2 separate regions of the Homo sapiens genome follow, and region 2 is linked to region 1. Evidence: promoter capture Hi-C in 16 types of primary human blood cells and fetal thymus (Javierre and others, 2016). All regions are on one chromosome and are shown on one strand. Each heading gives the region's core, a stretch centred on a gene start or on the middle of the fragment in contact. The rest is flanking DNA. Distances are from core to core; before and after follow the strand shown.

Region 1 (5,747 bases), core at 2,074-4,573:
GTGCTCCTAAAAAACAATAATAAAATTTACTAAGAGAACTAGTTGCTTTAAGAAAAGGTGCCACGCAAGGTAAATAAACCCCCAACTTTAGCTCTTCTCTAAGACTAGTAGTTCTTATGGTAAGGCAAGCTTATCTACGTATTTCTCCGACAGCCCATCCTAGCATGCTGAAAATTCTAAAATGACTTCAATACCTTTTAAAGATTAAGTATATATACTTACCACATCTTTAAGTACTTTTGTCACTGTTGCATTTGCATTTCCCCCTTTAATCAGCATGGCATTTTTAATATTTTCATTGAGTTTCGGTTCTCTCTTCTCAAGGAATCTCTTGGCTCTTTTCGTTTTGGGCTTTCTGTTCAGAAAAGCACAATTCATAACTATTTAAACATTTTCCTCACATTGCAAAGCCATGACTTAACTAATATGAAAATTCTTAAAAACATATTTGTCACTTAGGGTTCCACCCTTAAAAAAAATCTCACTTTCTTTTTTTTGTTTGTTTTTTTTTGTTTGTTTTTGAGATGGAGTCTCACTCTGTCACCCAGGCTGGAGAGTGATGGCACAATCTTGGCTCACTGCAACATCCACCTCCTGAGTTCAAGCAATTCTCCTGCCTCAGCCTCCCGAGTAGCTAGAATTACAGGCACACACCACCACGCCTGGGTAATTTTTGTATTTTTAGCAGAGACAGGGTTTCGCCATGTTGGTCAGGCTATTCTCGAACTACTGACCTCAGGTGATCCGCTCACCTCGGCTCCCAAAGTGCTGGGATTACAGGTGCGAGCCACAAGGGCCGGCCAAAATCTCACTTTTTTGGTAGATATTAGTAAAAGATATTTCCTTATTATTGTTAAATAAGTGTTTTGATAGCTTTTAAAAAAAAGCTTTCATTTTTGTATTCCCACCATTCTTTTATTACTGCTCTTTCCAATCTTTTTTTTAAGTAAAAAATAAAAGGCTCAAGTAAATACTGTTGCTGTTTTTTTTCTCTTACTCTTTCTTACTCTTCTTTTTTCTTCAAACTTTAAGTAGTCAAACTGTATCCTGTACCCTAATACAAAGAATTGAGCATCAACTGCTGATCAACCTGTGGACATTTACTAAACATAAGACTAACGACTGCTTATTTTTCTTTTAGGTTTAAGACCACAATGCCTGCCAGGAAGTATACACTGTTGCACTCCAACATCATTGCTGAGAATGCCAGTATTATTGCCAACAATGGGGAATAATAAGGCTGATGTTTACATGGAGTCACTCTATTAAGGCTTAATCTTCACCACAATCCTGAGAGTTACAATTCTTATTTATTTATTTATTTATTTTTTTGAGACAGAGTCTCGCTCTGTCGCCCAGGCTGGAGTGCAGTGGTGCGATCTCGGCTCACTGCAAGCTCCGTCTCCCAGGTTCACGCCATTCTCCTGCCTCAGCCTCCCGAGTAGCTGGGACTACAGGCGCCCGCCACGACGCCCGGCTAATTTTTTGTATTTTTAGTACAGACGAGGTTTCACCGTGTTAGCCAGGATGGTCTCGATCTCCTGACCTCGTGACCCACCCCCCCGCCTCAGCCTCCCAAAGTGCTGGGATTACAGGCGTGAGCCTCCACGCGCGAGTTACAATTCTTATCTTCACTTTACAGATGAGGCAATTGAACAGACAGGTAATGTGCCCAAGATCACACAGCAAGTAAACAGGCCAATTTTTAAAATGAGCTAGGGCTGGGAGGTGGCCCACAGCCTGTAATAAAAACACTCTAGGAGGCCAAGGTGGATGGATCACTGAGCCCAGAAGTTCGAGACCAGCCTGGGCAACAATGCAAAACCCTGTCTCTACAAAAAATACAAAAATTAGCTGTGGTGGTGTGCGCCTATAGTCCCAGCTACTCAGCAGGCTGAGGTAGGAGGACTGCTTGATCCCAGGGAGGTCGAGGCTGCAGTGAGCTGTGATGGGGCTACTGCACTCCAGCCTGGGTGACAGAGTGATACCCTGTCTCAAAAAAAAACAAATTTTTTAAAGCTAGATTTAAAAATTCGTCTAGACCAATTACCCTGTAAAATATGAAGGGAAAATAAATTCATTATTCTGACTTTATGATGTGACAGTAGGAGTGGCATGTTTTTACACACTTCTGTTCAAAAGAGGGGCTTCACCTCTGCTTCCTCTACAATGAGCACCTTGCTTTTCAGACAGTTCTCTGCCATCTACTGAAAGAATTCTTCCTCCCAAATAATTATGACCCTCCCTCGTCCAGTCCCATGGACACTTTGGGAAGAAAAAGAGACCATACATACACTTAAGTTTCCCATGTAGATTTTTAAAATACTCCTCCAGATATAATGTCACATATAAAGCTTCTGATCATTTACTGGTTGATAAAGATACAAATTATTCTATCTTTTGTATCTCATTAAACAGCAACAAATGCAAATAGCAATTAACATGTTTTATTAGCTGCCTGCTCCCAATTAACGTGTGAACTAGTCCCAATACCTAGTAAACTACTCTTTGTAGTCCAAACAGCTAGAGGCATAGCAGGTGTGCAAAATCTCTGAATGACTAAAACTGTCGTTTTGGATACATGTTAACTTAGGTAAATAGCAAGAAAATCACAGCAAGTAACAGCAGGGCTGTTTAGCCCAAATATTCTTGAACAAATTTAAAACAGGTATCATTCAAGGATAACTCAGAGGAGTGTACAAAGTTGGAAGGAAAAGAAAAAACTAATGAACATTTCTACGTGCTGCAGCAAAGGCTCTACATACATTCTCGAAACTAACCCTCACAGCTCTATGAAGTATGACTATGGTGAGCGCTATTTTACAGAATAAGCTAAGATTTAGAGATATTTAATGACCCAAAGTCACAAAGCTTTAAGTGGACGCGCCAGACTGTCACTCAGATCTGTCGGATTCCGAGGGCTGTGCTCCTAACCCCACTATACCATCTGTCTCATACTTCGGAAGTCAGACGTTTTTCAACTGGCTAGGATAAAAGCGGCCAACGCTTCAATCCCACATCCCTCCCATCCCACGGCTCCCACTTGAGAGCTTCCCCACTGTCTCCTGGCAAGCAGCTCGCGCTGAGGAGGACCCGGGCTGGTGATCGATCGGCCCCCACCCAGGTAATTAGAGGGGTAACCAGGAAGAGTGAGAGGCCGAGACAGTACCACCCTCATCACGGGACCCTTTCACCCCAACGCTCCCCGGGGCTGAGACCCAGCGCACTTACACTACTCGATCCAGAGTGTCCATCGCTACCGCTACCTGCAACTCTTAACCAGGGGGCATGCACGTGCCCTCGGCGATTACGTGCGCCGGAACAGGCGGAACCGGAAGCTGCGCGTAACGCCACTTCCGGGGACGGCCTCGTAGAGGGCGTCTAGAGGCGCTGGCGGCCATCTTGATTGGAATCGCGCCCTGTTGTCTTGGTTACGGATTTTTGCCCCGGCTCTTTCCTGGAGTTACAGGTGCGAGGTAATACTTTTAAGTAACACTGGCCGGGCGTGGTGGCTCACGCCTGTAATCCCAGGATTTTGGGAGGCCCAGGCGGGCGGATTACCTGATAACAGGAGTTCGAGACCAGCCTGGCCAACATGGCGAAACCCCGTCTCTACTAAAAATACAAAAATTAGCCGGGCGTGGTGGCGGGCGCCTCTAACCCCAGCTACTCGGGAGGCTGAGGCAGGGAGAACTGCTTGAACCCGGGAGGCGGAGGTTGCAGTGAGCGGAGATCGCGCCACTGCACTCCAGCCTGGGTGACAGAGCGAGACTTCGTCTCAAAAATAAAATAAAAATAAAATAAAATAACATAGACCCTCGCAGTTTGATGTACGCGCTAGTGTGCATACCTGGAGTCAGGTATTCAGAAACCAGATTTTATTCTTCAAGGAATCCCAGGATGCTAGAAAGGTTGATTGATTGCACGGTAGGTACTCACATAAGCACTAAAAACATTGATGTGAAAGGGGCACTATTGACAACTATGCGATCTGTGTGACAGAATTTATGACTACCACAGTTGCCTAGTACATAAAAGATGCGCAGAAAATGTACTGCTGTTCGTGATTTTTCCCCAGTTTTTAAGTTACCATATACTTCACATACCATAAAATGTACCCCTTTACAGTGTACAATTCAGTGATTTTTGGTGTATTCACAAAGATGTGCAAATATCACCACTAATTCCAGAATATTTAATCACCTCAAAAAGAACCCCCCTGACACACACACCCAGTAGCAGTCCATGCCCCACTTCCCCCTCCTGCCAGCCCTTGGCAACCAATAATCTACTTTATGTTCAATGGATTTGCCTATTCTGAACATATATAAATGGTTTCGTGCAACGTATGGCCTTTTGTGTTTGACTTCTTTCACTATCTTTTTGAGGTTCATACATGTAGCGTGGATCAGTACTTCCATTTTGTTAGGACTGAATAATATTCCTTTGTATGGATATACCACATTTTGTTTATCCATTTATCAACCTAGGTACTTTTTTTATTTTAGACATAGTCTTGCTCTGTCGCCAGGGCTGAAGTGCAGTGGTGCGATCTTGGCTTACTGCGCCGTCCACCTCCCGGGTTCAAGCAGTTCTGCCTCAGCCTCCCAAGTAGCTGGGATTACATGCACGCACCACCACACCTTGCTAACTTTTGTATTTTTTAGTAGAGACAGGGTTTCACCATGTTGGCCAGGCTGGTCTTGAACTTCTGAGCTCAGGTAATCCACCCGCCTTGGCCTCTCAAAGTGCTAGGAATACAGGCGTGAGCTACTGTACCCGGCAGCTTATGTACATTTGAATGGTTCCTATTTTTTGGCTATTATGGATTATGCTGCTTTGTGTTTTTTTGTTTTGTTTTGCTTTGCTTTGTTTTGTTTCTGAGACAGAGTCTCACTCTGTCACACAGGCTGGAGTGCAGTGATGCAATCTCAGGTTACTGCAACCTCCATCTCCTGGGTTCAAGTGATTCTAGTGCTTCAGCCTCTCGAGTAGCTGGGACCACAAGCGCGTGCCACCACACCCAGCTGCTTTGAATATTAGTGTACAAATTTTTGTGTGGACATACATTTTCAATTCTCTAGGAGAAAAATTGCTGGGTCATATGCTGACTCTTAAGTGTAACATTTTGAGGCACTGGTAAACTGTTTTCCAAAGCACCTGCACCACTTAAATTCCCATGAGCAATGTAAGAGAGTTTGGTATTAGTTTCCTATTTCTGTTGTAACAAATTATCACACATTTATTATTTTATACTTCAGGAAGTCAGAAGTCTGAAATCAGTTTTGCAGGTCTAAAATGTAGGCCGGAAGCAGTGGCTCACACCTGTACCCAGCACTTTGGAAGGCTGAGGTGGGCGGATCATGAGGTCAGGAGATCAAGACCATCCTGGCTAACACCATGAAACCCGATCTCTACTAAAAATACAAAAAATCAGCCAGGCGTGGTGGCACGCCTCTAGTCCCAGCTACTTGGGAAGCTGGGGCAAGAGAATCACTGGAACCTGGGAGGTGGAGGTTGCGGTAAGCTGAGATCGCACCACTGCACTCCAGCCTGGGCAACAGAGTAAGACTCCGTCTCTTAAGTAAATAAATAAATAAATTAAATAAATAAATAAATAAAATGAAGAAGTCAGTAGGACTACATTCCACCTGGAGGCTTCAGGGGAGAATCGGTTTCTTGGCTTTTTCCAGCTTCTGTAGACTGTCTGCATACTTTGGCATTTCTCCATCTTCAAAGATCATCAG
Region 2 (5,747 bases), core at 831-3,330, 1.1 Mb before region 1:
TTTGGGCAATCAAATTGAATAGTAATCATTTTAGACTTATTAGGGATACAGCATCTCTTATCCAAGCATATTCCACAAAAAGTGGGTTTGTAACTCTGAGTACTTGAGCATCCAGAAAAGACAAATTTTTCAGCTTTGGAGAGTTGGAAAGTAGGTTGGCATGTTTTTCCTTTGGGAATCTGAAAAGATAGATAAAATGAAGTCATTCTTTAAATTTTATTACAATAGTTTTGAAAACATGTAGAATAGTTTATAGTACAAATCTGAGTATTTGGAGGCATTAATAAAAGTTGCTATGTAGTGATTTCCAGCACTCTCTTTACCCTTAAGATCCCCTTCTTATCAGAGGTCTGTCCTCTCTATTCTTCATCATATTATAGCACGTACTCCTCAATGTTTTTTGCTATCTATTCTTGACTCAATTTTACAATAAATAGAAATTTCTGTTTTGTTTAATATCAAGAGCCATGTCTTATTAAATATTTATCTAAGACTTAGCAAATTCCATAACACAGCCCAGACAGTTTTCAGTGGATGCATAGATGAATAATTATCCTAATCTTTCTTTAAAACTGAATTGTCAACTTGCTAATATGATAGAGAATAACTTTGGGGTAGAAGGATTGTGTAGCATTTCTAAAAATTACCCTTTTTGAGACAGACTTACTGCCTCATTCAAGAAGCAGGACCAGCTCTAGTTATACCAAACAATCTTAGGGTAAATATTTTATCATAGTGTTTTAGCAAGTTTACTATGTAAGCATAGAGCATTTTGGAAATGGTGTGGCTTCCTTCCAAGTTAGTGATATATAACTAAGATCAGGACTTCTCTACTCTGATGTTCATAATATCTGTTTTCATAATTATAGTGTAGCAACCAAAATCTTTTATTCATTAACATAGAAAAAAGAAGTTAGAATCTGCTCTGGTTGGTAAAATTTTCCCCACAACATGCAGTTAATACCTGTTTTCCTCTGAAATAGTTTGACTTTAAGCATTATAATGAGATGCTTTTATTTTTCTAAGAACTAAACACCATCCCACCCTCCAAAACACACACATGCTTACTTTTCAGGAATCTCTTAATATTGAATTAAGTTAAATATATTTAAACTTTACCTTTATTGTCTTTAATATATTGCTGTCGCAAGGCTGAATGTAACACAGTCTTTTCTCTTTTCTCATTTCACAGTTGCTGTTTTCATTGGTCACCCTGTTAGATATTCCCATCCCACATGTTCTGGAGCAGGGAGTCCATTTTGTTGCTTGCACAAGACATTTTTTTTTCCAAATAAGTGGGAGATTTCTATAAGCTAAAACAAAGGGAGAAAAGTACATATGTATACATATAAATGTACTTGTATAAATAGATAATTTTTAATCATGTTTAATGTTTAAGAAATCTGAGTATTTTTGTATAATATAACTCAGAATAAAAGAAGCCGATGGTCTAATTTATCACTCTATCTCCCTCTTTCCCAACCCCAAAATTAACTTTCAATCAAGTATTACAGTCCAGTCTCTTAGGAGGAATAAAAATACTTTATCTTTGAAAAACTGAGAAGATTTACTCATTTGCATTTTTCTGCTTTGCCTGTCCTCTGAATACTAAACCTAAGCTTATGTTCCTGTTGAGTTGTCTTTTCCCTTGTTCTTGCCTCATCATTTCTAACAGACATTGAAATAAAAATTAGGGAATTTGATCAGAACAGTGTGATCTTAATGTTAACTTTCATAATATGTTAAAATCTAAAATACAAAAATTATATTTGAGAATGAGACTATCAGTGAGACCAGATTTCTTCCATTTGTTTTAATCTAGTCTTTTAGAAAACTGTCTAATTAATACTACACTGAACTAAACTAATCATTTATATAGAAAGTCATTGCAAGCGTATAATTTCATTCATTCAACTTAATTGTCACACTCCCTATGTTCTTAGGCCCAAAGTACTCTCCAATTGGCTAAGATTTCGAATTACATATGAAAAAACAGAATGGATGGATCAATAGATGGGTCAGTGAGTGAGTAGATAGAGCCCTTCCAATGTGCTGCTAAGGAGAAATAGGAGGGGAAGAGAGAATATAAGAGGGTCTAATAATGCTCCCATTTCCATGTAAGGTCACTGGGAGCTTCTTCTTATAAATGAATCAGGCCCTTGGCTCATTTTAAGCAAACTACATATTGACTTACTGTCTCAAGGCATTTCCTTAAGGTTAATGTGCATCTTGAAATGGATGCTTTGGGAGTATGGTTGTGATTTGAGTCTGCACAGCAAAATTCTGGCTATATTACTTCAAAAAAATCAACTTAAAACTCGAAAAACACCCAGAAAAAAAAAAAGCCTTCTTCATAGGAAATAGTCTCTTTAAAGTATGTGCTCTATTTTAATTGATACTGTGACACTGCTTTCAGTGTTATGACAGTAGAGTCTCTTGCAATTGCACATAGAACTGAGGAGAGGAAGCAGAAACGTGAAGATACCTGGAAGGTAGACAACAGTTTAAAGACCTCAATGCAGGAAGCAGATTAGAAGCTTGGCACACATCTGCAATAAATAAAGGCAGGTTAGATTACCGTGTTACCAGTAATCCCACTTGTTAAACCGACAGCTGTAGTTCAGGAATTTACCATTCATTAAAAAGCAAGAAAACTAGAAGAGATTTTTTAAACAAAGCTTAGTGTTTGGTGAGCATTGAAAAAAGCATGAGGGCATTGAAAAAAGCATGAGGGCATTATGTCATTGCGTGCTTCATACTGACCTAGCAAAAGCTAGATTCCAACCATAGACTATAAATTACTGTCACAAATATATCTAAAAGTATGTGTTTTTGTCATTATGGTTAATTTTAAAAGCCAAATTCCTGTGTGGGCCATAAATATAATTTCACAGTTAAGCAAAGAAGAGACATTAGACTGAACGTATACTTCATTTGAAACACACCTAGGTCTAAATCATAAATACCAGAGAACACTTCAGGAGATTTTCTTGTTTTACCTGACAAAACACTAACTACTAAGACTGACTATCTGATGCCTCTCCCAACCAAGGTCAAAGTGAATCCACTGAACTGCTCTAACTTCTAAAATGAGACCAACTTGAACTTGATCCAAAGGGCTTCACTTGTGGAAAACTGCTCTAAGGTAGTCTTCCCAGGGAAGTTTATGTGTGGGTTCTAAGAGCCTTATACTGAATGACTAAAATCCAATGCAGAAAACCAACTGTTCTGTACATTTTGAAAAAAAAAAATAAGGACATGGCTTATAATTTCAGAGATTTCAGAGCATTAACAGTGTCATGCTGTCAACTGAACATGTATAGTAAATGCAAATTCACAACAACCTAGTAAATTTTTTTTCTAATTTACTGACAAAACTGGAGTTGCTGAGGATGTTCCTTTCATAGAGTTAGTTCTTAAATATCTAAACTCATTTCTCTGCTTATAGTTGCCTTTATTAAATATCCACTTAATAAAAGTGAACTCATGAGTTGTTAACATATTCAAGTATTCTGCATTTCCATGGCACCTCTCACTAAGCTCTAAACTTTAAGAAAAAGGCATTCTTGATTTCTGGATGAGAACACAGAGATGTGAACAAGAACCAGACTTCGATGTTGCCCCTTTTGAGTCCCTCCTCCTCTATACTTTATTTGCTGGTGGTTCTGAAACTCCTGTTCCCAAAATATGCTGATGCTTAAATAAAATGCTAACTTAGAGCAGACCAGAATACAAGGTTTATAAGTATACTTAAGCTGTTTGAAATGGCCAGATACACAAGATGAGTAATGAAGGATCACACTTCATTTTTCTGAGAACATAGATACATGGGTAACCTACTTAAAAATGCCTGTGTGTGTGCATGTGTGTGTTTGTGTGTGTGTGTGTGTGCGTGCGTGTGTGTGTGCGTGTGTGTTTGTGTGTGTGTGCGTGTGTGTGTTTGTGTGTGTGTGTTTACAGAGAGATTAACAATTGAGCTTCAATTTCAGAGTGAGGGAAAGGACTTCCTACGAGATTTCTATTTTTAGAAATAATATTTACAAGTTCAAAATATGTGTCAGTTCTTAAATATTTTTCAGCAGTAGCCTCCCATTTCTGCCTGTATCACATAGAAATGTTACCTTTTAAAATTTGGGGAAGTGAATGGTCAAACTTCTTGCCCATAATAGAACAATAAAAATAAGTTGTTCTAGGGTACATGTGAACAATATTTGGTCAATTTTCCTGAGAAGAGGTTAGAAATAAGCAGAGGTGTAAGATTTTAGTAGAGCTTCCTGACCTAGTAGATCTTTTAAAAATGTTTTTAAATGTTTTACCAGAAAATTCTAAAACATTATAAAATTTCCTTTGCAGATATTTATCCCTGTCTGAGGCAAAGATTAAGTAAAATGATACACTCAAACTATATCTCACTCTGACCACCAATCAACAAGTACTTACTGAGTACCTATGATACGTAAAAGGAACATGAAGGAATACCACCAAGGTCATACGTGAAAAATAGCTCTACTTCTGAGCACCTGGCATTGTTTTGTAGCTTGTTGAAAGCTGCTGTAGTAATGGTTCCAGGCTACAGTTTGACTGATCAGACTTCTTTCCACCTTTAGCTCCAGAGCAGTGACTGCCAGCCAGCTTTGGTATGAACAGAGGTGTGCATCCAATGGCCCCACTCACACAGAGGCAGCTGAACAAGGGGTTGGGCTGAAACACTTGGCCATTATGATAATGTACCTGGTTGAACTCGCACCCAACAGCTACAAGGTCTGAAAAGAGAAAAGAGCAAAATTGCCAAAGAAGCCATGATCTGTGATAGTCTAGACCTCCAATTATAAACCTAAGAAGAAACGGATCATCTCCTGTATGAAGTATAGCTCTCAACCTCTTAGGTTCCATTTGGAACCTCCTTCACAGGACATCTGTAGAAAGGTTTCTAAAGTGAGGCATTTTTATTATATTGCAGGCTATAAACCCCACATGGTCACTTCCAGAATTAAGACCAAGTAAAGACCCTGTAAAATCACCATAAGTATAGTGGTTGATAATAAATCTGAGACAGGTTAATGCCTAGTGAGACAGGTTTTCTCAGACATCCAACAATAGGCTAGGATATAGTCTTAGGAAGACAGGATAAGTGAATGTCTGAAGAAACTATACGTTAGTTAACTACAGAACCGCAAGGTACTGATGGTTTTTGTTAAGAGATTGCAGGAGAGTTTCCCTTCCTCTGATGGGTATTCTTGACTTTCTGGATAGGCTGTTCCCCAAGTGTGGTCCTCTAATCCCTTGGCAGTACCTGAGACACTTTTAGGGGATCTGCAAGGTCAAAACTCTTTTCCAAATACTAAGATGTGGCTGGCCTTTTTCACTGTGTTGGTATTTGCACCGGTGCTACAAAAGCAACTGTGGCTAAAACTGAACTGCTGGTGCCTTGGCATGAATCAAACTGTAGAGGTAATCTTGTATTTTTCCTTGCCAGGTACTTATACTTTAAAAGGGGTGGGGGAAGTTTTACCTAAGAATGTCCTTGATGGCACAGCAAAAAGTATTAATTTTATTAAATCTTAATCATCAAATACTGGTCTCTTTAATATTCTACGTGACAAAATAGGAAATATACATAGAATATTTTAGTGCAACAGCTGTCTTGAAACTTCAGCAAACTGCTCTCTCAGGGAAACTTAAGGAACTATGTCATTGGTAAAGTTGTGAGCTGAGCTAACCACTTTTTTTAGTGGGAATTTTACTTG

What was found. The method cuts DNA at HindIII sites, captures the fragments that hold promoters and counts their contacts. A CHiCAGO score of 5 or more calls a contact.
Region 2: a fragment that was not itself captured here is called in contact with the fragment with the promoter of RPF2 in region 1 in 1 of 17 cell types (non-activated CD4 T cells); the score reaches 5.8 in non-activated CD4 T cells.

What each region holds. Positions count from the first base shown.
Region 1 is chr6:110,979,614-110,985,360 of GRCh38, reverse strand. RPF2 (ribosome production factor 2 homolog) reads right to left here and starts at 3,323. Exons shown (of 10, transcript NM_032194.3): 1 at 3,232-3,323; 2 at 223-355. The coding sequence starts at 3,254. The HindIII fragment of the contact is 9,963 bases long and covers 2,874-5,747 here.
Region 2 is chr6:112,063,771-112,069,517 of GRCh38, reverse strand. CCN6 (cellular communication network factor 6) reads right to left here. Exons shown (of 5, transcript NM_198239.2): 3 at 4,521-4,763; 4 at 1,120-1,313; 5 at 1-179. Among named protein-coding and RNA genes, the nearest start is that of CCN6, 13 kb to the right of the region's middle. The HindIII fragment of the contact is 918 bases long and covers 1,622-2,539 here.